Linked DNA regions of Homo sapiens: regions 2, 3 and 4 are each linked to region 1. The links are contacts of gene promoters, found by promoter capture Hi-C in blood cells and fetal thymus (Javierre and others, 2016). All regions are on one chromosome and are shown on one strand. The core of a region is centred on a gene start or on the middle of the fragment in contact, and the rest is flanking DNA. Distances in the headings are between cores, read along the strand shown. Region 1 holds the start of SIGLEC14 (sialic acid binding Ig like lectin 14). Region 2 overlaps FPR1 (formyl peptide receptor 1). Region 3 holds the start of HAS1 (hyaluronan synthase 1). Region 4 overlaps ZNF175 (zinc finger protein 175).

Region 1 (6,369 bases), core at 3,870-6,369:
CCACATGTTCTCACTTGTAAGTGGGAGCTAAATGATGAGAACACATGGATACATAGAGGTGAGCAACACACACTGGGGCCTTTCAAAGGGTGGAAGGTGGGAGGAGGGAGAGGATGAGGAAAATAACTAATGGGTACTAGGCTTAATATCTGGGTGATGCAATAATCTGTACAACAAACTCCCATGACACTTTACCTATGTAACAAACCTGCACTTGTGCCCCCTGAACTTAAAAGTTAAAAAAAATCATATCAAGCATGTGTATTTATTAAAATGGAACTTAAAAAGAAAGTAGTAACAATTTGTTTAAAAATAAAAAACCAGTAAAATCTGCAATCACTTAGAAATTAAACAACACACTTCTAAGCAATCCGTGAATTCAAAGGAAATCTCAGGGGAAAGAAGGAAATATTTTGAACTAATATAAAAATACAACATAACAAAACTTTTGTGGTGCAGCAAAAGTGATTAAAGGGAAAATGCAGAACCAGTGGATACAGAAGGCTGACTGTACGATATTAAAAGCAAAAAAAACCCCACCAAAACTGAGAATGAGCTATTGATACGTGTAACAACGTGGATAAACTGGGAAAACCACACTGAAGAAATGAAAGCAGACCCTAAAGCAAATATGTTTGGTTCCAGTTATACGATGCACAGAACCTGACAATACAGGTATTGCCTTCTTGTATATGGACAGAAGGAGAATCACTTGAACCTGGGAGGCAGAAGTTGCAGTGAGCTGAGATTTTGCCATTGCACTCCAGCCTGGGCAACAAGATAGAAACTCTGTCTCAAAGAAAAAAAAAAAAGACATAATTTTTGTCTACAAACTCTCACAGAGGCATTAAAGAGTAAAATCAGTTATGTTGTATTGTTTCATAAAAGTTTTACTTATTTTGTAACAATTGTATTGGATAATAATCACAATGAGGTAGAGTTTTAACTGGAAAACAAATGCTGCCTCTCTGTGCCTATATGGATAGGGAAGCTGAGGAGACCAGAAATTCAAGTGTTAAGAAGGTAACTTTTGGCAGCCAGGCACGGTGGCTCATACCTGTAATGCCAGCACTTTGGGAGGCCAATGCAGTGGATTGCTTGAGGTCAGGAGTTCGAGACCTGGCCAACATGGTAAAACCCCATCTCTACTAACATACAAAAAAAAAAAATTAACTGGATGTGGTGGCAGGCACCTGTAATCCCAGCTACTAGGGAGGCTGAGGCAGGAGAATTGCTTGAACCCCAGAGGTGGAGGTTGCAGTGAACGGAGATTGTGCCACTGAACTCCAGCCTGTGCAACAGAGTGAGACTCTGTCTCAAAAAAAAAAAAAAAAAAAAAAGGTAACTTTTGGGTAATGGGTAATGGGGGTATAAGACCGAAAGTACATTCCCTTCACAGGGCTGGAGATGGTGGATGGAGAGGGAAGAGAAGGGCAGGTGGAGAGGGGATGGGGTGCAGATGGGGATGCAGGTGTGGTGGGGCAAGACTCACAAGCAGAGGGGAATAAGTAGAAGGGGTATGGGGCAGGAAGGAAAAGAGGGGTAGTCAGTGGGATGTGAGCTTCCAGAAAGAAGCTGACAGTGATGTCCTGCATGTGTCCCACAGGGCTAAGTGTCCACACCTCAGTTCTGTCTTGAGCGGGAGGGGCTCAGCCAGGCCTCTCAGCCCTGCTCTGCTGGGGGCCTCCACACCTGCAGAGCCAACATGGGCCTCAGATCAGCACCAGCCACTTCAGTTCTAATTCCAGGTGGGGCTGAGCTGTCCTGGGGCAGGACAGCTCAGCCCCACCTGGAACTCAGGAGCTTCCTGGAGACAGGCAGTCCGGCTCACCTGGTATAGTAGATCCAGGTGAGGCCATAGGTGAGGAGGAAGCCAGCCCCCATGAGAGCCCCCCTGATCAGGGTGAGGACGAGGGGCCAGGAGCCCTGCTGTTTCTCAGTTACACATATGCAGGAAGAGGAGCTTCCTGGGAGAAAGGAGAAGGTAAGGTGCTGTTACCAGGCCTCAGTCCCTCCCACCAACCTGAATACCTCACCGGGCTGTCTACCCTCAGCACCTGTCCTGCAACTCACTCTGCACAGAAAGGATGAAGGACAGGTGCTGGGAGCCCAGCGGATGCTGAACCCGGCAGGTGAATTCCCCTCCCTCTCTAGCTCCTATGTTAGGCAGCTCCAGGGTCCCAGACATTGAGGTCTGGGAAGGATTGAGGGCTTTTCCCTCCCGGAACCAGCTCAGTGAGGCAGGGGGGTTGCTGTCAACTGTGCAGGCGAGGAACAGGGACTGGCCCTCCTGGATGGGCACCGACATGCCATTGCTCAGGATCCGCAGGGCTGGGAAAGAGAAGCACAGCCAGGTGAGTGGAGCTGGGAGGCCCAATTCTCCCTCATTCCTCCCACTGAGCTGCAAGAAGAAAGACAAGACTGTGTGGTGAGTGCTGAGAATGGGCTAGTCATGGGTGAAAGGATGAGGACTTGGTGATCAGGTCAGGCTACCAGAAAGAAGGTGGCTGAGCTGAGAAAAGACAGATGAGGAGGAGTTCTCACATTAAGGAGAAGTGGATGGGCAGCTCAGGTGCAGACGTGCCAAGAACTGAGACAGGCAGACGAGGAAAGAGGCTCCTAGATCCGCAACCTGTCAGGGAGGACCCAGAGCTCCCAAGACACGATAATGGAGGTAGAAGCAGGCTCAGATCTTTTGGAGCATTGGGTGCCAGATTGAGGGCCTTGGGCTTTATCCTGGAAAGCAAGAGGGGGCTATAAGCAAGGGAAACAGAGTTAGCACTGGATCTAGAAAGATCCTGCTGGAGCCAAGTAGGTCCCGGACTGGAGAGAAGTGGGATAGGAGGCAGGGAGGCTGGGAGGAGGCTGGGGCAATGGGCCAGGGTTGAGCACGAGACTTGAGCTGGGCCTGGAACCAAGGGGATGAGGAGGGAAGTGATGATTGGTGAAGTAAAGGTGTTAAGACTTGCGGACTCATGAAACAGCTGATGAGAAAGGGTGCTGTCTACAGCGATGTCCAGAACAGCCCTGGGATCAACAGGGAAGGAGGAGCCGAGAAGCATCCGAGGGAGGTGGCTAAATGTGCAGATCTGTGCCTCAGAGAAAGGGCTGGATATAAAGTTGTGGGAGGCATCAGGACAGGGTCAAGGAGAGATCGGATTACTCAGGAATGTGGAGGGGAAGAACTGGGTTCTGGGACAGAGCTGTGGGAGGTGGGAAAGTCGAAGGCTCCCAAAAAGGACGATCAGTTAGAGATGAAGCAGGGCATGCATCAGAGGACATCGGAGCAGGCAGAAATTCAAGAAAAGGGAACAGCGTGTCCTGAGTACTCAAACTCACAGAGACAGAAAAGTAGAATGGTGACTGCTCGGTGGCAGGAGGGGGAAGTGGAAAGTCGCTGTTCAGTGGGTACAAAGTTTCAGTTTTGCCAGATAAAAGGAGCTCTGCAGTTTGGTTTTGCAACAATGTGAACACATTTAACACTGCTGAACTGTACTCTTTAAAATGGCTAAGATGACAAATTTTGTGCTATGTGTATTTTCTCACAATGAAAAAATAAATCTGAAAAAGAGAGCAGAGAAAAGGGAGAAGCCAAAAGAAATACTAGGTCTGTTCGTGCAAGATCTTAGTGACTGGGATTGGGGGGTTGGGAGCAGGAAGGACCCAGACCCAGGGGCTGAGGGGTGAGGGAGGGTCTCCTCTCCCAATGCTGAACCCTGAGCTAATAGAAGGCTCCCATCACAGCCCCAGAGGGAAGAGGGTCTTTCCTACCTGTGCCTGTGCCATTTCTGAAGAAGATGCTGATGGCGAGGTTCTGTGGAGCATCTGGGATAGAAAGATACAGCACCAGCTTCAGAGGTGACAAGAGGGATGGGCGTGGTCCCGGGAGGGACCCAAGGAGGGGCCACAGAAACCCACCAGGTGGGGACCGCTGTCCTTCCTGCCCACACACGAGTTTTCCCTGGTTATCATTCTCTTTCTCTCTCTCTCTTCTACACACACACACACACACACACACACACCCCCCTCACTCCCACTGCCCTTGGGGACTCAGCTGTGTCCCCAGCACCACTCACAGGAGACATTGAGCTGGACAGTTCTCTCCGTGGTCACCTGAGCTCCTTGGCGTTTCACCTGACAGGTGAGGTTGGTGCCATGGTCCTCGGGCCTGGGGGTGAGGGTGAGCTCCGAGGAGCGGGTGGTCTCGGGGTCCAGGGGGCTGAGGGCATTCCCCGTCCAGGAGAATGTGAGAGGTGGTCCCGCTTCACAGGATCCTGGAAGGCTGCAGCTCAGCCTTGTGGGGCGGCCGGACTCCAGAGGCTCCAGAAAGTGGATGTCGGGTTTCTCTATCAGGGCTGAGGAGGAGACAGGGAGATACCTGGGCCCCAGGGGCTTGAGGACGTAAGGTGTGACCCCGAGAGTGGCCAGGCCTCAGGCCCCGACCTGCCCCAAGTCCTACACCTCCTCCAGCCGCCCCTGCCCAACTCCTGTCCCTGTTCTCATACGGGGGTCTCCACGTCCCAGGGTCCTCTCCTAGGGTTCCTGCCATACCTGTCACCTCCAAGTTCAGCTTATTCTGTTGGTAGCTATATTTTACATCCCTTCCTCTCTCCACGCGGAAGAAATAGCTTCCCGTGTCCTCCATTCTGGCATCTCCGATGCTCAGGGAGCAGTTCTTCTTCTGGACATCCCCAAGGAGGCGGAATCGGCCCTGGGTCTCTGGCTTCACTCTTCTGTCTGGGTTGTTTGTGGCCACAACCTCAGCGTAGTATGGGATCTCCCCGTCCCGGAACCAGTAGACGTAGAGTGGGGGAGAGGAATACCAGGATCTCCAGGGGTAAGAGAAGGAGCAGGGCACAAGGACGCACAGGCCCTCCTGCACCGTCACCGACTTCTGCACTTGCAGCTCGTACACTGGCTTCTCCTGCAGGGACCCTGGGGGGACACAGAAGCTCAGCTGCAGCTCCAGCCCCCCTTCTCACCCCTGTGCCTGTCCCTCCTCCCTCAGCTCACTCACCCCCCCACAGCAGGGGCAGCAGCAGCAGGGGCAGCATGTCTCCATCCGCCAGGGCCCCAGCCCAGTCCCAGGTCCGGCTGTCAGGGAAGGAAATGCTCCAAATGTCCAAACGTGGGGTGGGGCTGAGAAAGCCCCGACAGGAAGCCGGAGGGTGAGTGAGAGCTGTGGACGCGCACAGAAGGGGAACTTGGGCATCACGTGCTGTTGGGGTGAGGCTGGGGCTGGGAAGCCATTCTGCTCCCACCCCCACTGGACGCCGATGGTGAAGATACTGAGGCCCCCAGAGGGGCTTGTCCAGACTTGTAAGTCTAGACTCCTGAGGTCACCAGGTCCCATAGCTGCAGCACTTTCCTTATGCACCTTTGTCTACATAGGAAGGAGAACACCACTTGGCCAGCTCCCTGGGAGTCAGGGCCTCGGGACCCTCAGCGAGATGGGAGAATAAATCCTTTATGACATGATAGGAGCTGTGGTGAGGGAAGCACACGCTGGGGGTTTCAGGTGGGGAAGACTTTCCTCTTTCCAGAGGGAAGGCAAGTTGTCAGGGACAAACACATCAGGTGGACATGACCGGGTCCTTAGCAGTCAAGAGAGATGTGGTCCCCACCACCAGTTGGATTTGGGAACCTCATCTCATCCTTGTCCTTGTCCCAGGCAGCGTCAGACCCCATCCCTGATGTTGACAGCCAGATGAGGCTTGAGAGCCGGGCATTTGAAATGTGAACGTTGAGGATATGGAATACCAAGTGTGAACCCAGACCCCTCACCTACCGGCTGTTGAACTTTACAAAAGTTACCTACCCTCTCTGTGCCTCAGTTTGCTCAGCTGAAAAATGCAGACAATAATAGAATTGCTGTGTGGGGATTCAGTGAGGTCTCATGTGTAAAGTGCTTAGGACAGTGTCTGGCCCCGAGAATTCACTCATTCAACTGATGCTTCATGGGCGCCTATGGTGCACCAGGCCCCCTGTTTTAGGAGCTGGAGATACAGCAAAGGATAAACTCTTAGGATGAGAAGGTAAGTCAAAAATCCTAGTGGGGGCTCCTCTGGGCACACTGCTTATGCATACCCCTGCTCCACGAAGAACAGTAAAAAAAGAAGGCCGGGCGCAGTGGCTCACGCCTGTAATCCCAGCACTTTGGGAGACCGAGGCGGGTGGATCACGAGGTCAGGAGATCAAGACCGTCCTGGCTAACATGGTGAAACCCCGTCTCTACTAAAAATACAAAAAATTAGCCGGGCGTGGTGGCGGGCGCCTGTAGTCCCAGCTACTGGGGGGGCTGAGGCAGGAGGACGGCGTAACCCGGGAGGTGGAGCTTGCAGTGAGCCGAGATCGCACCACTGCACTCCA
Region 2 (6,369 bases), core at 2,384-4,883, 100 kb after region 1:
AACCAGCCTGGCCAATATGGCAAAACCCCACCTCTACTAAAAATACAAAAAAATTTAGCCGGGCGCAGTGGCGGGCGCCTGTAGTCCCAGCTAACCTGGAGGCTGAGGCAGGAGAATCGCTTGAACCCGGGAGGCAGAGGTTGCAGTGAGCTGAGATCGCACCACTGCACTCCAGACTGGGCGACAGAGTAAGACTCTGTCTCAAAAAAAAAAAAAAAAAAAAGAGCTGGCACCAGAAATCTTCTTAAGGAGGATACTGTTATTGATAAATGACTTGAGTTAGGAAAGGAGACCTGAGGGATAAAGAGTCAGAGTCAAGGGTAGGATGGCTAAATTTCTCTGCGTTGTAAAAAAAAAAAAAAAAAAAAAAAAAAAAGCAGGAATCTGGAGGTGAGGAGATAAGAGGGAGGGTGGACTTTTAAAAGGATGTCTTAAGTTCAACTGGAAGCTTTCATGTTTGTCCGTTGCTGGCCAGTTGCATACTCTAACATTTCCAAGCTTCTTTCTGTAAAGTGTGTTTCATATTTAAATACCTTGTGCAGGTAGCTTTTCAGTAAATTGAAGGAAATGTCTGAGTTCCTCTCTGGGTTAATTTCATCAGGGCAGCAACCACCAGACATTGTGTGAACTGGACTAACTCAGTTGAAGCAAGACTTAGAGCCACAGGTAAAAACACGGGCCCTGGGGGCCCTCCCTTGTGGAGAGGATAATCTGTTTCCCAAAATTTATTATATAAAAGATTAGGCATCAGGTAGATCTCAAGGAAATGAGGGGTCTTCAGCTGACATCTCGATAACTTTATATTTTTACTGAGTTGTTGACCGATAAAGGCTGAGGACTTTATATAAAGTATCTTCTTTTTTTTTTTTTCTGAGCCGGAGTCTCTCTCTGTCACCCAGGCTGGAGTGTAGTGGCGTTTTCTTGGCTCACTACAACCTCCGCCTTCCAGGTTCAAGCGATTCTCCTGCCTCGGTCTCCTGAGTAGCTGGGATTACGGGAGCCTGCCACTACGCCCAGCTAATTTTTGTATTTTTAGTAGAGACAGGGTTTCACCATGTTGGCCAGGCTGTTCTCGAATTCCTGACCCCTGGTGATCCGCCTGCCTCGGCCTCCCAAAGTGCTGGGATTACAGGCATGAGCCACCGCTCCTGCCCTATATAAAGTATCTTCTTGTATATCTTGTCTGATTTAAGCCATACTCTTTCACACTTCTCCCTCCTCCTTCATTTACCTAGGATGACTATATAATTTATTTTTCACAGCAGGGCACTTTTCAGAATGGAAGTGGACACTACTCATCATGATGCCAGAATGATGGGTATCATTCACTACTCATAATTCAGGACTAATAATAATGGGTATTATTTGGGTTCATTTCAGGCAAACTAGGATGCAGATGACAGCTTCTTCCTATCATTTCCCACCCTGACCACCCAAGGCTGAGGTCCAAAATCAAAAAAGAAGTCAATAATAAACTCATATCTGTTTATTCTCCCCAAATCAGGGGACACAAAGGCTTTTTTTTTTTTTTCTGATGAGTGGGTAATCCTAAAATAAGCAGGAAATGCCTGTGGCTCAGCCTAACTCAAGGTGAGACGAAGCTGGAGCTGGGAGCTCGAAAGTGTCCCCCAGCTCCCTCCTCACTTTGCCTGTAACTCCACCTCTGCAGAAGGTAAAGTAGAATTGGTAGCTGTGTCACTGGTTTGGGTTGAGTCCTCGGTCAGGGCCCTCTCCAGACTGGCGGGAAGGGCGTGGATCAGCCTCTCCCGGAAGTCCTGGCCCATGAAGACATAGAGCATGGGGTTGAGGCAGCTGTTGAAGAAGGCCAGGGCACTTGTCACATCCACTGCAATACCAATTTCTTTGTACATGCCTTGCAATAACTCACGGATTCTGACTGTGGCTATAAGGGCCACCACCTGATATGGGGACCAGCAGAGAAAAAAGGCTGCTGCGACAAAGGAGAGGACCCGTAAGGGACGACTGGACTTAATCAAGCCTTGCTTGTGGATCTTGGTGGCAATAAGCCCATAACTGACAGCAACGATGGACATGGGTGCGCTGAAGCCAATGATGAACCGGATGATGCCTCTCACCGTCAACATGGCAACGGCCACATTTATCCTCTCTTTAGGGTCGTTGGTCCAGGGCGAAAAGTTAAAAGTGCAGGCTACTGTCCCCGTTTTACCAGGTACTGTAGTCACACGAATGATAACTGGCAATGTGAGGAGCAGAGCCATCACCCAGGGCCCAATGATCACCTTCTTGGCCAGGCTCACGGTGCGGTGGTTCTGGGTCCAGACTGGATGCAGGACGCAAACACAGCGGTCCAGAGCAATGAGGGCGATCAGGAAGACACTTCCGAACAAGTTGATGTCCACTATGGTAAAGACGAATTTGCACAGGAACCAGCCGAAAGGCCAATGTCCTCCCATGGCCTTCCTGACCATGAAGAATGGCAAAGTGGAGGTGAAACAGAAGTCAGCCACGGCCAGGTTCAGGTAACTGATGGTGGTGACTGTGTGTGTCATCCGGAATCCAGCCACCCAGATCACAAGCCCGTTGCCCAGGACCCCGAGGACAAAGGTGACTGCAAATACCAGATAAGTGATGATATCCAGGAAGAGATAGCCAGCAGATACAGCAGGTGTCCCTCCAGAGATGTTCGTGGGGAGAGAGGAATTTGTCTCCATCTTGTCTGCTCCTGAAATAGTGCAGTCGTGGTCATTCCTCAGTTATGAACCTCCGTACCATTTCCCCACCCCCTCATTTCTGCCCCTGCCAGTTTTCCCACTCCTAGCTTTCTCACCTTCCCCTAGAGCTCCCACAACAGCCGGAACATCCTCACCACTGTCCCTTACACATGCCCACATCTATACATTGGCAATCTTTTATTGTACCTGTTGGGCAAGATTACATCTTTTTTTTTTTTTTTGAGATGGAATATTGCTCTGTCACCCAGGCTGGAGTGCAGTGGCGTGATCTCTCACTGCAACCTCCACCTCCCGGGTTCAAGCAATTCCCCTGCCTCAGCGTCCTGAGTAGCTGAGACTACAGGTATGCACCACCCCACTCCTGGCTAATTTTCGTATATTTAGTAGAGGTGGGGTTTTGCCATGTTGGCCAGGCTGGTCTTGAACTGCTGACCCCAGGTGATCCACCCACCTCAGCCTCCCAAAGTGCTGGGATTACAGACGTGAGCTACCACGTGTGGCCAAGATTGCATCTTATGACACATCCTCATAATTGCTAACATGCAAGCCCCTACCAGGGAGATTAAATGGCTAAGGAAGATAGGGTCCTTGACCTCCAAGAGGAGAATATGGGGCCAAAGATGTATAGAGAAAACATGTATTCAAACAAAAATGTTCATAGAGACACTCCTCCCTATAGCCAAAAGGTAGAAACAACCCAGATGTCCATCAACAGATGAATGGATAAACAAAATGTGGTTTATCCACCCAATGGAATATTATTCTGCCATAAAAAACAATGAAGCACTGATATATGCTACAACGTGGCTGAACCTTGAAAACATTACTCTAAACAAAAGAGGGCTGGATGTGGTGGTTCACGCCTGTCATCTCAGAGCTTTGGGAAGCCGAGGTAGGAGGGTTGCTTGAGCTCAGGAGTTCATGATCAGCCTGAGCCACATAGCAAGATCCTCATCTCTAACAACAACAACAACAAAATTAAATTAAATTAGCTGGATGTGGTGGCACACACCTGTAGTCCTAGCTACTCAGAAGGGTGAGATGGGAGGCTCACTTGAGCCCAGGAATTCAAGGTTAATAGTGTACTATGATTGAGCCACTGCACTCCAGCCTGGGCAACAAAGCAAGACCCTGTCTCTAAAATGAAAGAAAAAAGAAAGGAAGGAAAGAAGGAGGAAGGAAGGAGAGAAGGAAGGAAGACACCACAAGTCACATTTTGTATGATTCCACTTGTATGAAATATCCAGAGTAGCCAAACTCACAGAGACCGAATGCAGATTAGTGATTGCCAGGGACTGGGGAAACTAGGAAGTGGGGAATTGTTGCTTAATGAATATGCAGTTTTTGCTTGGTGTGATTAAAAAGTTCTGGAACTAGATAATGGTTATGGTTGCAACACACTGTAGATGTACTTAATGCCATTGAATTGTACATTTAAATGGGTAACTTTTTTATTGTTGTTTGAGACGCAGTCTCGTTCTGTCACCCAGGCTGGAGTGCAGTGGTGCGATCTTGGCTCACTGCAACCTCCGCCTCCCGCGTTTAAGTGATTCTCCTGCCTCAGCCTCCTGAGTAGCTGGAATTACAGGCACTTGCCACCATGCCCAGCTAATTTTTATATTTTTGTAGAGATGGGGTTTCACCATGTTGGCCAGCCTGGTCTCAAACTCCTTGACCTCAGGTGATCTGCCCGCCTCGGCGTCCCAAAGTGCTGAGATTATAGGCGTGAGCCACTGTGCCCAGCCTAAAATGGTTAACTTTTTGTATTTTACCATCAATTTAATAAAGGAAAAATAAGAGCATAAGATATCAGAAAATCAGTGGGCGACAGCTTCAGTGACCTAGTGTCACACAAACGTGGACTAAGACTTTCTCTCACCCATAACACTGCATAAGAACTATAAGGTATGCAACTTCTCAGCCAGGCGCAGTGGCTCACGCCTGTAATCCCAGTACCTTGGGAGGCCGAGGCGGGTGGATCATGAGGTTAGCAGTTCGAGACCAGCCTGGCCAACATGGAGAAGCCCCATCTCTACTAAAAATACAAAAATTAGCCAGGCATGGCGGTGGGTGCTTTTAGTCCCAGCTACTCCAGAGGCTGAGGCAGGAGAATCACTTGAACGTGGGAGGCGGAGGTTGCAGTGAGCAGAGACTGCGCCATTGCACTCCAGCCTGGGCGACAGAGCGAGACTCCGTTTCAAAAAAAAAAAAAAGATATGCAACTTCTCCACTCCAAATTCTGCTCGCTCTCTCTCTTTAAGGTCATGAAATCTCCCTTTCCTCTCTCATCGTGGGAAGCAAGGCATAGTACTTGGTTAGTTTTCCAACATAGGTCAAATGGATCCGTGAGTGATACTAAACGACGTATAATCAAGTATTATATCCAATGGATTCTGTGCTAGAAGAAGTCAGAACAACAGACTCTGTTTCCACTCTCGTCTCTGCGGTTACCTTGGCCAGATGGATGGGAGGTGCTTCTCCATCCATTGGATGGGCTCAGCACTCTTGGGGATGTAGAAGACCGTGATAGAAATAATAGTCCAAATATGTATTGGATATGACATTTCATTAGATCAGGTATGCAAAGTGCATGTCAGGTTCTTGCTGAGAGCTGGCCTTCTCTCTTTTTTTTAATTTATTTTATTTTATTTATTTATTTATTTTGAGATGGAGTCTCTCTCTATCACCCAGGCTGGAGTGCAGTGGCGTGATCTGAGCTCACTGCAACCTCCGCCTCCCAGGTTCAAGCAATTCTCCTGTCTCAGCCTCCTGAGTAGCTGGGATTTCAGGTGCACGCCGCCGTGCCTGGCTAATTTTTCTTTTTAATTGTATTTTAGTAGACATGGGGTTTCACCATGTTGCCCAGGCTGGTCTCAAACTCTTGAGCTCAGGCAGTCCACCTGCCTCAGCCTCCCAAAGTGCTAGGATTACAGGTGTGAGCCACTGCGCCCGGCCTGGTCTTCTCTTCTAATGCTTGCAGCAGCCTTCCTCAAAATTGTTACTATGAGGGTCACTGTCTTTATGGTACCCATTTTGCAGACGAGGAAAGTGCGACTTAGAGCATTTCAGTTAATTCCTTAAAGTCACCCAACAGCCCAGGCTGTCGAATTCCAGCAAAAGTCTCTTTCTGCCTCTGCCCTGCCACGCTACTGGCACAGAAGAGCTGTCTAATGCACTAGTCACTCACCACATGTGGTTTTCAAGCACTTGAATTGTGGCTAGTCCAACTGGAGACAGGCTGTAGGAGTAAAATACCCATCAGATTTCAAAGACTTAGTATGAAAAAAATATTGTGACCATCTCATTAATAGTTTTTATATTGACTACATGTTAAAATGATAATAATTTGGCTATTTAAGTTTAGGTTAGATATTTTATTAAAATTAAGTTCGCATGTTTCTCTTCACCTTTTTAAAGTGCCTACTTGACACTTTGAAATTACATATGTGTCTCACATTTCTAATGAACTTTGATACTCTACAATCTCAGAAACAACTCAGAGATGTCTCCCTCCCCTACCACCCATCCAACCACCAAAATACCCTGAGGACTCTTTGTCCTCAAGAATCTCTAAGGCAACCAGTTCAGAAGATTGTTGCAATGAATGATGAGGATTCTGCAATAATGAGCTGGAACATACCAGAGAGGAAAACCT
Region 3 (6,369 bases), core at 1,840-4,339, 77 kb after region 1:
TATCTCCCAATCAAAGGTTTCTTAGGGTTGAGACAGTAATAATAATAACACATACTAAAAAACCAAAATGCTGTGTACCAGTCCCTGCTCTAAGCCTTTAAGATGAATGAATTTATTTTAATCTTTACAACAGCGCTGTAAGGTAGGTACTGTTATTATTATCCCCGTTGTACAGATGAGGCAACTGAGTCACACAGAGGTTCAGCAATTTGCCCAAGGTTGTCCCTGGAAAGCAGAGGAACCTGGATTTGAACCCTAGGAACTGAATCTCTAAACCTCTAGCCCTCGGGAGAGCCCTGGGGGACAGATAGTGCTCTGCCACCATACAGGTGGCCAAACTGAGGACTGATTGGCCAGAAGGAGTGGCTTGCACAAGATCAGCAGCCCATGGTAGAGGACTCTTCTCTCTGACTTTCCAGAGGCATAGCCTGGTTCTCCTTTTCCACTGCCCAACTCCCCAGCAGAGCCAGGTGCCCCAGTAAATGTTGCTGGAAGAGCCCAGAATCAGAGGAAAAAGTACTTTCTGTGTGCCAGACACTACTGTACAACAACCTTAATATATATATATAAATTTTTTTTTAAATTGAGACAGGGAGCCAGAAACTGTGGCTCACGCCTGTAATCCCAGCACTTTGGGAGGCGGAGGCGGGTGGATCACCTGAGGTCAGGAGTTCGAGATTAGCCTGGCTAACATGGCGAAAGCAAAATACAAAAATTAGCCAGGCTTGGTGGCGCACGACTGTAGTCTCAGCTCCTCAGAAGGCTAAGGCAGGAGAACTGCTTGAACCCCTGAGGTGGAGGTTGCAGTGAGCCAAGATGGCACCACTACACTTCAGCCTGGGTGACAGTGCGAGACTCCATCTCGAAATAATAATAATAATAATAGAGACAGGGTCTTGCTGTGTTTCTCAAGTTGGTCTCGAACTCCCAGGCTCTAGCGATCCTCCTGCCTTGGCCCCCTAAAGTGCTGGGATTATAGGCGTGAGCTACTGCACCCGGTCTCTACAACAATCTTATAAGGCAGGTACCTTCACTGTCTTCTGTTACAGATGAGGAAACTGAGACACTGAGAGGCAAATACTTTTACCCAAGGTCACTCAGGTAATAAGCAGAGTCAGAAGTAAAACTCAGGCAGTCTGGCTCTGGCGTCCCCTCTACGCTAAACTGCCTCCTATGCCACCAGTTCCTGCCTCAAGGCTTACTGTGGGTTATTTAAATGCGTCGTTAAGATGTAGATCTTTGTGTCCAACACAGGTGTCAGCAGCCACATGTGTCTACCGAGTACTTGAAATGCAGCCAGTATCACCGAGGAACTGAGTTTTAAATTTTATTTAATTTTAATTCATTTAAATTTAAAAACTCTTACTTGATTCGGTTATTGGAAAGATTTTAAATATGTCTGGAACAAGTTGCATCTACGATGCCCCTTTTATAATTGTAAATCTTATAAAATCTAAACACAGATTAGGTATTTCCAGTGAAAAGGTAGCATCTAAGTGAGAAGTGCTATGAACACACTGGATTTTGAAGGCCAAGTCTGGGGAAAAGAAAGTAAAATAGCTCATTAACATTTATGTATTGATTACATATTGAAATGATCATATCTTATATGTAGCAGGGGTCGGCATGCTAAGACCTGCTGCAGCCTGCAGGCTAAGAATTTGTGTGTGTGTTTTTAGATGGTTTTTGAAAGCCAAAAGAAGAATAATAGTTTGTGGAGCATGAAAAATATGAAATTCAAATTTCAGTGTCCTTAAAGGAAGTTTTATTTGCATACAACCACATTCATTTGTTTATACATCATCTGTGGCTGATTCTACATTTACCACATCGAAGTTGAGTACTTTCAAAAGAGACCAGATGGCCCCCAAAAGCCTCAAATATTTAATATTGGGCCCTTTATTTAAAAAAATGTGCTGGCCCCTGACACACTGGGTTAAATAAAAATATATTATTAAAATTAATTTCACCTGTTTGTTTTTACTTTTTCAAATGTGGCCACAAGAAAATTTTAAATTAGATATTGTGGTTTTCGTTACATTTCTAGAGGACAAAACTGAGGTACAGCTTTTAAACTCTCAACATTAAACATTATTCTTTCTTCTCGAATCCCCCTTCTCTCTTCCTTTGCTTCAAACCTGGCCTTGCCTGAGTTCCTAGGGATGGCTCAATTCATGCTGGGGATCCAGAGAGTTGATTCCAGAAACACAGATGAACACACGTGTAGACACACTCCCCCACACGTGAACTCACACATGATGAGTGACACACAGAATGAAATTACTCGTGTTCTACAGGATGACCCGAGACACCCACTCAGGCCAAACACAGCGATCCCGTGACCCCCACCGACGGCCACACAGGTGAACCTGCAGACACACACCCCTCAGCAGGAAAAAGCAACACCAGCAAAGGATGTCCACGTGGCCACAAACACACAGAGCCCCAACTGAGAGTCTGGGGCAATGGGATGCACAGGGAAGATTTCAAGAGAAATAGTAGGTGACTGTCAAGCTGATACTGAACCAGATGAAATTGCTATTCTTCCAAGTTTAGAGTGGCTCAGTATCGGCGATTTCATTTGGTTCAACTTAATAGCTATTGAACGCATGAAACAGAAATCCATTCCCATGTGCCACAGGCAAATCCAACTCTCTTTCTCACTCAGTCTCTTTCATTCGCTCACTGTCGCACTCCCTCTTTCTCTCTGCCTCCCAGGGAACATAGACATACACAAGTTTGTAGCAAGATACGCAGATACAGAAATACGGACATGGCACGTCTCACCTACATGTACTTGGGATGGCCGCTCACACAGGGCAATGTATACACAGACCTGCACACTCAGCCTCACATGCTCACTGTCCCCTACACACATATGGTCACTGTCAGGCACATGGATACACACATGAAATCATGCACACACAGTTCCCCAACACACGTGGTCACACATATGGCAGTAGTTTTCCCCACATGGCTGTATACACACACACACACACACACACACACACACACACACACACCTGTCTCATCGCAGTGGGTCTGGCCGGGCTCTCTCTTCTCTCCGGCTTGCTCTCCCAGCCTCTCTGTGGCCAGAGAGCTGGAGGGGGGTCATTTGAAGACCAGCGCAGGCGGGGGCGGGAGCGAGCGCTGACGTCAGTCAGGCTAAGCTGGGCCAGGGGCTCTGAGGTCACGGCCCAGCCGGGCAGCTCCACCCGCTTCCCGCTATTACTCCCACCCCCCTCAGCCAGACGGGCCTCCCTTCCCAGGCCCCCATGTCTACCCGCGCCCCTCCTCTAGTCCTCTCTGCCATCACTCCCCCTCCTCTCCCTCCCTCCTCTATGTCTTCTTCTCTCTTCCTCCCCCCTCTCGTCCCTTGTCTCCCCTGATTTTTCTCTTCCACCTCACTTGCATTTTGGGGGTTCCCCTCATCCCCCCATCCCCTATCCCTGTATTTCCCTCCATCCCTTTCTTTCTCCCTAACCCACTATTTCTCCTCATCTCTTTGTTGGTACCCTCATCTCTCTCCCCATTACCACATTTCTCCAAGTTTCTGTCTTTCTCTCCATCCCTTTCTTCCTCTCCACTTCTCTTGCCTCCTCTCACCCTCATTTCTTTCTCTTCTTGCTTTAAAGCTCTCCCCACCTCCCCCTTCTCACCTTCCCCAGTCACCCCCGCCCTGCTTCTCCCCACAGCCGCCTCTCCTGTCCCCAGAATCCATCTCTGGGTTGGGCCCCCCAGGGACATGTCTCAGCAACTGGCAGATGGAACGAAACTCACACACGTGCGTGCTGTGGGTGTGCCTGTGTGTACGCTGGCCCGAGGCACGGCTGCCTGGAACCGGAGCTGTGAGTGAACATCTGTCCATTCAGCGCCTAACTGACGTGGGTCTGCGTGTGTGCACCAGGGTCTGGGGTGGAGAGCTGGGGCGCTGGGATTTGTATCCCCAGGGACTCAGGGATGAACACAGAGAGTTGTCGGTCAGCTGACCCTGGGGAGCCAGCCGGGGTCTGTCAGTGCTGTCACCCATCAGGGAAACTGAGTCAGAGGAAGGGTGAAAAGAGATGCGGGACCTGGGGTGCCCGAACCCCAGCCCCTCAGGACCAGATCTGTGATAAATGTCTGTTTACATGCCCTTCTTTCCATGAATTTTTTAAAAAAACTATCTGTATCTAATTCTGTTCTTCTCTCTGCTCCTCTTACTGTGAACTATTGATGTCTCACTTTCGGCCTTGGTAGCTGCCTCGGTAGCTGCCTCGTTCTTTTCTCCCTGCCTGTGACTCCAACGACCTTTGGTGTCTGGCACGGGCCAGCTCCAGGACAGGCTGAAAGACATGGAGCAGCAGAGAGAAATTCCCCCGTGCTTCTCTCTCCTCGTCTGTCCCTCCCCAAATCTCTGTCATTTTGTATCTGTCACCCCATCTCTGTTTCTCGGTCCCTCTATTTGGGTCTCTGCCTCTGTGTATTCCTGTCTGTTTCTCCTCCTCATCCCCCCTCACAGCCATTCTCTCTCTGCTTTTACCTGGGAGTGTCTGTCCCTTTGCATTTCTGAAGTCTCCCTGACTTTCTTCTTGTGTGGCTCTCTTTCTTTCTGAGTGCCTCTCCCTGACTTTCTCACTGTGTGTCCATGTGTGTGTGTCTCTTTCTCTCTGTCTCTTTTTCCCTCTATCTCCCTCCCTCTCTAGCTCTGTCTCTATCCTCCTTCCGTCTCTCTGCATCCCCATCTCTCTCTTTTTTTTTTTTTTTTTTTGAGACGGAGTCTCACTCTCTCACCTAGGCTGGAGTGCAGTGGCGTGAGCTCGGCTCACTGCAACCTCCGCCTCCCGGGTTCAAGCGATTCTCCTGCCTTAGCCTCCCGAGTAGCTGGAACTACAAGCGCCCACCACCACACCTGGCTAATTTTTTGTATTTTTAGTAGAGATGGGGTTTCACTATGTAGGCCAGGCTGGTCTCCAACTCCTGACCTCAAGTGATCCATCTGCCTTGGCCTTCCAAAGTGTTGGGATTACAGGCGTGAGCCACCGCACCTATCTCTTTGTAAGGCTCTATCTCTGTATGTGTTTCTCTGTCTCTGTCTCTCTCATTCAGTTTCTCTCCATTTCTCTGTTTCTACATCTTCGTCTCTCCCTGCAGTTCCATCTCTTCCAGCCTGTCCCGGAGCTCTCCCCTGCCAGACACCAAGTCCTCACACCAAGTCCTCACACCCTGGGGTTTTCCCCGAGGAGGCTGCGCCAGGCCAAGCCTCTGCCTGGGCCTGTCAGGGAGAAGGTGCATTCCCAAGGAGCTCGAACGCCCTTCCCACCCACCAGGGCGGGCCGGGCTGTGTCTGACGCTGTTGCCGGGAGCCGGGCTGCCTGGTGTCTGGCTGTGTCAGGATGATGGGTCCTCAGATGATCTGAGGCCAGCCCAGAGCAGAAGGGGAGGGTGAGTCCTCCGCCCAGTGGGAGGGGGCAGCGCAGGCTCCTCCCCAGAAGTGGGGCATTTGGCTGCCCAGCCCCCACCCCGCCCTGCTCGGGTGGAGCAGCTGTATAAAACCAGATGTTTCTAAAACCAGAGTGCGGTTGAGGAAGGATAACCAGGGCTTTAATCCTCAACAGTTCCCTCCTCTAAGACCCAGGAGTCCAGGTTCCCAGCACCCTCCTCCTTCAGACCCGAGAGTCCAGACCCCAGCCCTTCCTCTCTCAGGCCCAGGAGTCCAGGTTCCCATGTCCCTCCTCCCTCAGACCCAGGATCCCAGACACCCAGCCCCTCCTCCTTCAGACCCAGGAGTACAGGTTCAGAGTTCCTCATCCCTCAGACCCAGGGTCCAGACCCCCAGTCCCTCCTCCCTGAGACCCAGGAGTCCAGGCCCCCAGCCCCACCTCCCTCAGACCCAGAAGTCCAGGTCCCCAGCACCCCTCCCTCAGACCCAGGAGTCCAGGCTGCCAGCCCCGCCTCCCTCAGACCCAGGAGTCCAGGCCCCATCCCCTCCTCCCTCAGACCCAGGAGTCCAGGCCCCATCCCCTCCTCCCTCAGACCCAGGAGTCCAGGCCCCATCCCCTCCTCCCTCAGACCCAGGAGTCCAGACTCCATCTCCTCCTCCCTCAGACCCAGGAGTCCAGGCCCCCATCCCCTCCTCCCTCAGACCCTGGAGCCCAGGCCCAGGCCCCCATCCCCTCCTCCCTCAGACCCAGGAGTCTCAACTCCCAGCTTCCTTCTCCCTTAGACCTACATGTCCAGCCCCCAGAATTTCTTGCAGGAAGAGATGACCAAGGCTGGAAGCAGCCCAGACAAGTGCTGAAAGACAGGGAGCAGTGAAGCTGAACACTCCCACAGCAGGCCGGGGCTGTTGTTGGAGGGACAGGTAGGGACACCGCACCCCTCGCTAAC
Region 4 (6,369 bases), core at 1,506-4,005, 66 kb before region 1:
GTTTGAGACCAGCCTGGCCAACATGGTGAAACCCCATCTCTACTAAAAAAATACAAAAAATTAGCCAGGCATGGTGGCGGGTGCCTGTAATTCCAGCTACTTGGGAGGCTGAGGCAGGAGAATCGCCTGAACCCGGGAGGTGGAGGTTGCAGTGATCCAAGATCATGCCATTGCATTCCAGCCTGGGCAACAAGAGTGAAACTCCATCTCAAAAAAAAAGAAGCAAGCCCCAGAATGGGAAAAGATTCTTGTTACACATACAGCTGACAAAAGGTTCCTATAAAACGTTGAGGACGGCTGGGCGTGGTGGCTTATGCCTATAACCCCAGCACATTGGGAGGCCAAGATGGGAGGATTGCTTGAGCCCAGGAGTTTGAGACGATCCTGAGCGTCATAGGGAGACCCCATCTTTACAAAAAATAGAAAAATTAGCTAGGTGTGGTGGTGTGTGCCTGTGATCCCAGCTACTCAGGAGGCTGACACGGGAGAATCACTTGAGCCCGGAGGTCGAGGCTGCAGTGAGCTGTGATTGCACCACTGCATTCCATCCTGGGTGACAGAGTGACATCCTGTCTCAAAAAACAAAAACAAAAGACCTGAGAGGTTTACAGGACAATGAGATACTCCTTCAGAAACACAGAAATGGCCACGTGCAGTGGCTCACACCTGTAATCCCAAAACTTTGGGAGGCCAAGGTGGGTGGATCGTGTGAGCTCATGAGTTTGAGACCAGCATGGGCAACATGCTGAAACCCCATCTCTACAAAAAATACAAAAATTAAGGCTGAGTGTGGTGACTCACACCTGTAATCTCAGAACTTTGGGAGGCAGAGATGGGCCGATCACTTGAGGCCAGAGTTTAAGACCAGCCTGGCCAACATAATGAAACCCCGTGTCTACTAAAAATACAAAAATTAGCCAGGCATGTTGGCAGGCACCTGTAATCCCAGCTACTTGGGAGGCTGAGGCAGGAGAATCGCTTGAACCCAGGAGTCAGAGGCTGCAGTGAGCCAAGAGCATGCCAGTGCACTCCAGCCTTAGTGACAGAGTAGACTCCATCTCAAAAAAAAAAAAAAAAAAAAAAAGCTGGACATGGTAGTGCACGCCTGTGGTCCCAGCTACTTGGGAAGCTGAGGCAGGAGGATCGCTTGAGTCTGAGAGGCAGAGGCTGCAGTGAGCCATGCTCGTGCCACTGCAATCCAGCTTGGGCAACAGAGTGAGATTCTATCTCCCAAAAAAAATTTTTTTTTTTTGAGGAAAAGTGTTTTTTAACCCAGTAGAAAACTGAAGAAGAGACTTGCTTGAATAGGCTGGTAAACATGGGAAGATGCTCAGCTTCATTAGTCATCTGGGAATTGCCAGTGTAACTCCCATGCCTGTACCAAAATGCATACAGTTACCAACACTGATAATACCAAATGTAGGTGAGGATACAGAGCAACCAGAAGGATTTTGTGTGCTGCTGGTAAGCATATAAATTGGTACAACCAATTTGGAAAATGATTTCTAATTTTCTACTAAAGGCGAGCATGTTTTTCCCATGACCCAGAATTCCACCCCTGGGTATATGCCCAACATCTGTTCTGAACTGGTATTTAAATGTAGACCTGTGCTGTCCAGTATGGTAGCCACTCACCACATGTAGCTATTGAGCACTTGAATGCGGCTGGTTCACCCTGAGATGTGCTTGAAGTATAAAATATATGCTGACTTCTGAAAACTTAGTATGAAAACAGAATGTAAAGCATCTCATCTCGATGATTTTTAAAATATTGAATATAGAATATTCAATATATAGAATATAGAATGTTTTAATATATGTAATATTAAAATATTACATATAGAAATGATAATGTTTTGAATATAATGGATTAAGTAAAAATATCATTAAATTGATTTTATCTGTCTTTTAAACATGGCTACTAGACAATTTTAAGTTATATGTGTGGCTCACATTCACGGTTCATGTTTTATTTCCATTGGATGGCTCTCCTCTAGAGGCTTGATCAGAGTCCACTTGGATTTCTTTGTTTTTGGAAATGATACTTAATAGTTTGCACACCACGTATTTTCCTACCTCTCTACTTTTATTTTTTTATTTTGCATCATATTAGGTGCACTTTAATATCTGGTTATCTCTCTCCTTGTGATAAAATTGATGATTGGGTTCAGATATTGTCAGCCTACTCCTCCATTATAAAGACCCATCAGTCTTTCATATGGTTTTAGCAGTCATTGGTGATCAGTAACAGTGACATTTTTGTTTTGTCCTTCAGGCTGCATTTATCATCTGCAGTACTTCTGTAATGAAGATCTTTCCATCATCAGTCCTTTCATTAACCTAATATTAGTTATTACAGGAGAGATCATCTTGTTGAAATATTATATGATCATATCTCTTCCCTGCACTTAAAATCCTGAAATGGCAGTCCGTTCATTAAAATAAATAATCCATACCCATTATATATTGAGGCACCAGCCCACTTCTTTGGAGCTTGGATGGTAACCACCTTCCAAACATGACATAGTCGCCTCTTATCTTACACAGAGCTGTCTGCTTCTCCCTGAATTCACAGTGTTTTCCTACCTCTCTAGTTTTATTCATGCTCTTTTCTGGAAAATGATTTCCTTCACACATCCTGCATCACAGTTCTTACTTCCAGCGTAAGCTTCACCAACTCTAAGTAGCATTACCTTCTACTCCTAGGTAGAATTTGCCTTTCCCTAATTTGCCCTTCCCCAACAGTGTCCTCTGCATATATTTCTACCATGTTCCCTTTTTAACCCTGTAGTTGAGCTTTTGTATTTACATGTCTTCCAAGTCTCTGAGTTGCTGCAAGAGTAGAAGCTTATGTAATTCTGTGTTGAGCACCAGAACCCAGCTCAACTACAGCCTCACATGTAGTTGCTTCGTCAACATCATGCTGGTTATTCCTAAATTAGCTAAAGGACTTAGAGGGAACCCATTTCTGGCCTCATTTTTGAAAAAAAAAAATGAATGAATGAATGTAGGTGTACAGTGGATGGAGGATATTTCTCTTATTTTTTTTTAAATCCCTAAAAATGTGAAATAGGTGTTTGGTGGGAAGCCTCTGTGATGGATCGTGGTGAAAATCATTAAAAGCATGTTCCTCCTATATGTGCCATCCCCACTCGCCAATGATGACCTAATTCACAGTGAGCTGGGGTACACTGTTACAGGCATCAGTGTCATTTGAGGACGTGACCGTGGACTTCAGCAGGGAGGAGTGGCAGCAACTGGACCCTGCCCAGAGATGCCTGTACCGGGATGTGATGCTGGAGCTCTATAGCCATCTCTTCGCAGTGGGTGAGCACAACTGACCTGGGAATCTTGGCTGGATCCTGTTGAGGAGATTTCCTTCCTCCTCATTGCAGAACGCAGTGGGATATCAAAGTATGTCATGACTCTTTTATCGGTTTGTCCTGGATTGTTTGTTTCTTTTGGGCACCTTCTAGTATTATTTTGTGCCCAGTGGAAAATGTTGACTTTTCTAATGAGCCAGTGTAAAGCTTCATTGAATGGCCTCTAAAACTGAAGAAGCTACACCCAAATCCAGTATCCTTTCTAATTAACAGGGTATCACATTCCCAACCCAGAGGTCATCTTCAGAATGCTAAAAGAAAAGGAGCCGCGTGTGGAGGAGGCTGAAGTCTCACATCAGAGGTGTCAAGGTGAGTAAGTTGTACCCGGGCAAATGTAGATATCTTTGCAGGGAACCATTACCAGTCTACCATACTTTTCTATTCCCTCCATTCCCCCAGTGATGGCCCGTAGATTGCCTCCTACTCCCAGTTTCCCATCAAACACTGTAAATGTGCTATAAATGTTAAATGTCCTATAGGGGCTGCCTTAAGAATTTTCCATTGGTGAATACTCAGGAATGGGATTGCCTGGTCCTGGAGATAAGTATACTTGACTAAATCAACCATATTGCTCTTCTGATGGGCTGCACCAGTTCACACTCCCCATGTGCAGTGCACAAGGATTTGCATTTGCACATCTTGCTTGCTAACACTTGGCATTAACAAAATTGGTGAATTTATAGCCCTACTGATAGGTGAAAGGGCTGTTTCATTTTTTTTTGTTTTTGGTTTTGGTTTTTTTGAGACAGAGTCTCACTCTGTCACCTAGGCTAGGGTGCAGTGGCACGATCTTGGCTTACTGCAACCTCTGCCTCCTGGGTTCAAGTGATTCTCCTGCCTCAGCCTCCCGAGTAGCTGGGACTACAGGCACCCGCCACCACACTCGGCTAATTTTTTGTATTTTTAGTAGAGACAGGGTTTCACCCTGTTAGCCAGGATGGTCTCGATCTCCTGACCTTGTGATCTGCCCACCTCGGCCTCCCAAAGTGCTGGAATTATAGGCGTGAGCCACCGCACCCAGCCTGTTTCATTGCTTAAGTGTTATTTTTCTAATAACTGAATGGTGAGAGCCTCTCATCTTATCTGTTATCTGATTGGCTTTTTCATTTGTTTGTTGCATTTTCTTACCGCTTATCTCTTTACGTCCATGGAGTTTTCTGCCTTTTTTTTCCAGTTTTTTTGCCCCTAATTTTATTTATTTTCTTTTCTTTGCTGGATCTGCTGTCTTCTTTTCCTCCCAGTTGTGGCACCTCTAGCTTGGGGCCCTGTTCTTCCATATGGGCATCTTTTCTTTTTTTTGAGGCAGAGTTTCACTCTTGTTGCCCAGGCTGGAGTGCAATGGCACGATCTTGGCTCACCGCAACCTCCGCCTCCCAGGTTTGAGTGATTCTCCTGCCTCAGCCTCCCAAGTAGCTGTGATTACAGGCATGCACCACCATGCCCGGCTAATTTTGTATTTCTAGTAGAGACGGGGTTTCTCCTTGTTGGTCAGGCTGGTCTCGAACTCCCGACCTCAGGTGTTCCGCCTGGCTTGGCCTCCCAAAGTGCTGAGATTACAGGCGTGAGCCACCGTGCCCGGCTATGGGCATCTTTTCCCACAGGAATTGACTTAAAGGACCCATCCATTCTGAACTCTTAGTCCTCATATTTTTATTCTAATGATTTATATATCAGTACCTCTAGTCCCTGTGCTTAAACTGTGTTCTGCTACCTTACTTAGCTCCACGGAGGACAGTTCCCATGAGATGACTCACTTCCTTAATTTTGGGAGATCAGAAATTGGAATCATCATCATCCAAATAAGGAATTCTCACCTGATAAATTTTGTGAGATTTTTCTGTTTCTGGGCTCAGAAACACAGTCCTCTAATTTAATTTATTACTTTGGAATTCTTACCAGTTTTTCTTGTTTTAATTAAGAAAAAAGTGACCCTTTTTCTTAATCCCAGTGGTATTACAACAAACTAGATCCCCATTTTCTCATATTTAGACAATTTTGTTCCCAGTGAGATATGTTGATTTCAGGTTTTTGAGTTTAGTCAAGATACTGACAGATTTTATGACCCCAAACATGGCTATTTTGTTTCTTTTTTCCTCAGTAGATATGATAAAAACAGGCAGTTCTATTTCCTACTGTGTAGGATTAACAAATTCTTTTCAGTGATATTGTCCTCATGGCCACATATTTCCAATTTAAAAATATACCTGAATAGTTTTCATCACTCATGCTCTGCTCCATTGTTTTTGTATGTTGTTTAATGTCTACTCCATAGAATGATTCACTTTGCATACACTCTGCTGATTACTTTGTACTTTCTTAATCTTCATTATATCAATGTTTAGCATGAGGAAACCATTGTATTTAAGATATAGGATTAGGATTTTTGTATTTAGGATACAGAAATTACTGATTTTCTGAAAATGGGCAGAAAAGAATATTTCACAGTATTTTAAAAGGATGCTTTAAATATTTGCTGAGATAAATTCAAAAGAACGGAGATTGTATTTGGATGGAGAGGACAATGGCATTAAATGTTAAAAGTATTAGCCTTTGTGCATCAATCATGTCTATTTCATGGAAGGCTACTCAAAAAGTAAGTGTATCAACATGGGAAGCATGGATAGCAAATGCTGGTGAAGTTCAGAAAAATGATGTCAGCCTAGAGGTGGAGTGACATTGGGAATTAATTTTAAGGGCATAGTACCTATAACTGGTTCAAGAAGCCATTTTGAATTGAAACAAAGAAGCAGATGAAGCAAGCTTAATGGGAATAGAGGACATGAGAGTGTGCTTGGATTTGAGAATAAATTGGACTTCTTTTTTGCAATCGACATTGTTAGGCTGTGTTGGAGAGTTGTGGAAAAGCTTTTCAGTACAGTTCTGATAGTTTACATTGAACATTTTGGGCAGTAATTTAAGTGTTACCAGGTTCAGCAAGATTTTTATGACCTGAATAAAGTGAGAAGTTAAAAATGTTTCAGATCGC

Evidence for each region. Contacts are between HindIII fragments. The CHiCAGO score rates a contact against its expected background, and 5 or more counts as called.
Region 2: a contact is called between a fragment that was not itself captured here and the fragment with the promoter of SIGLEC14 in region 1, in 2 of 17 cell types (neutrophils and monocytes). The highest score is 6.8, in neutrophils.
Region 3: a contact is called between the fragment with the promoter of HAS1 here and the fragment with the promoter of SIGLEC14 in region 1, in 1 of 17 cell types (neutrophils). The highest score is 5.3, in neutrophils.
Region 4: a contact is called between a fragment that was not itself captured here and the fragment with the promoter of SIGLEC14 in region 1, in 2 of 17 cell types (naive B cells and total B cells). The highest score is 8.6, in naive B cells.

Annotation. Positions count from the first base shown.
Region 1 is chr19:51,641,706-51,648,074 of GRCh38, forward strand. It overlaps SIGLEC14 (sialic acid binding Ig like lectin 14), which reads right to left and starts at 5,120. Exons shown (of 7, transcript NM_001098612.3): 1 at 5,018-5,120; 2 at 4,552-4,935; 3 at 4,077-4,355; 4 at 3,772-3,825; 5 at 2,074-2,331; 6 at 1,832-1,967; 7 at 1-1,692. The coding sequence starts at 5,054. The coding sequence ends at 1,650. The HindIII fragment of the contact is 8,795 bases long and covers 1-6,369 here.
Region 2 is chr19:51,744,302-51,750,670 of GRCh38, forward strand. It overlaps FPR1 (formyl peptide receptor 1), which reads right to left. Exons shown (of 2, transcript NM_002029.4): 2 at 1,472-2,704. The coding sequence starts at 2,693. The coding sequence ends at 1,641. Among named protein-coding and RNA genes, the nearest start is that of FPR1, 4.4 kb to the right of the region's middle. The HindIII fragment of the contact is 6,274 bases long and covers 497-6,369 here.
Region 3 is chr19:51,720,902-51,727,270 of GRCh38, forward strand. It overlaps HAS1 (hyaluronan synthase 1), which reads right to left and starts at 3,090. Exons shown (of 5, transcript NM_001297436.2): 1 at 3,024-3,090. The coding sequence starts at 3,032. The HindIII fragment of the contact is 33,518 bases long and covers 1-6,369 here.
Region 4 is chr19:51,578,191-51,584,559 of GRCh38, forward strand. ZNF175 (zinc finger protein 175) reads left to right here. Exons shown (of 5, transcript NM_007147.4): 3 at 3,201-3,327; 4 at 3,597-3,692. Among named protein-coding and RNA genes, the nearest start is that of ZNF175, 10 kb to the left of the region's middle. The HindIII fragment of the contact is 179 bases long and covers 2,667-2,845 here.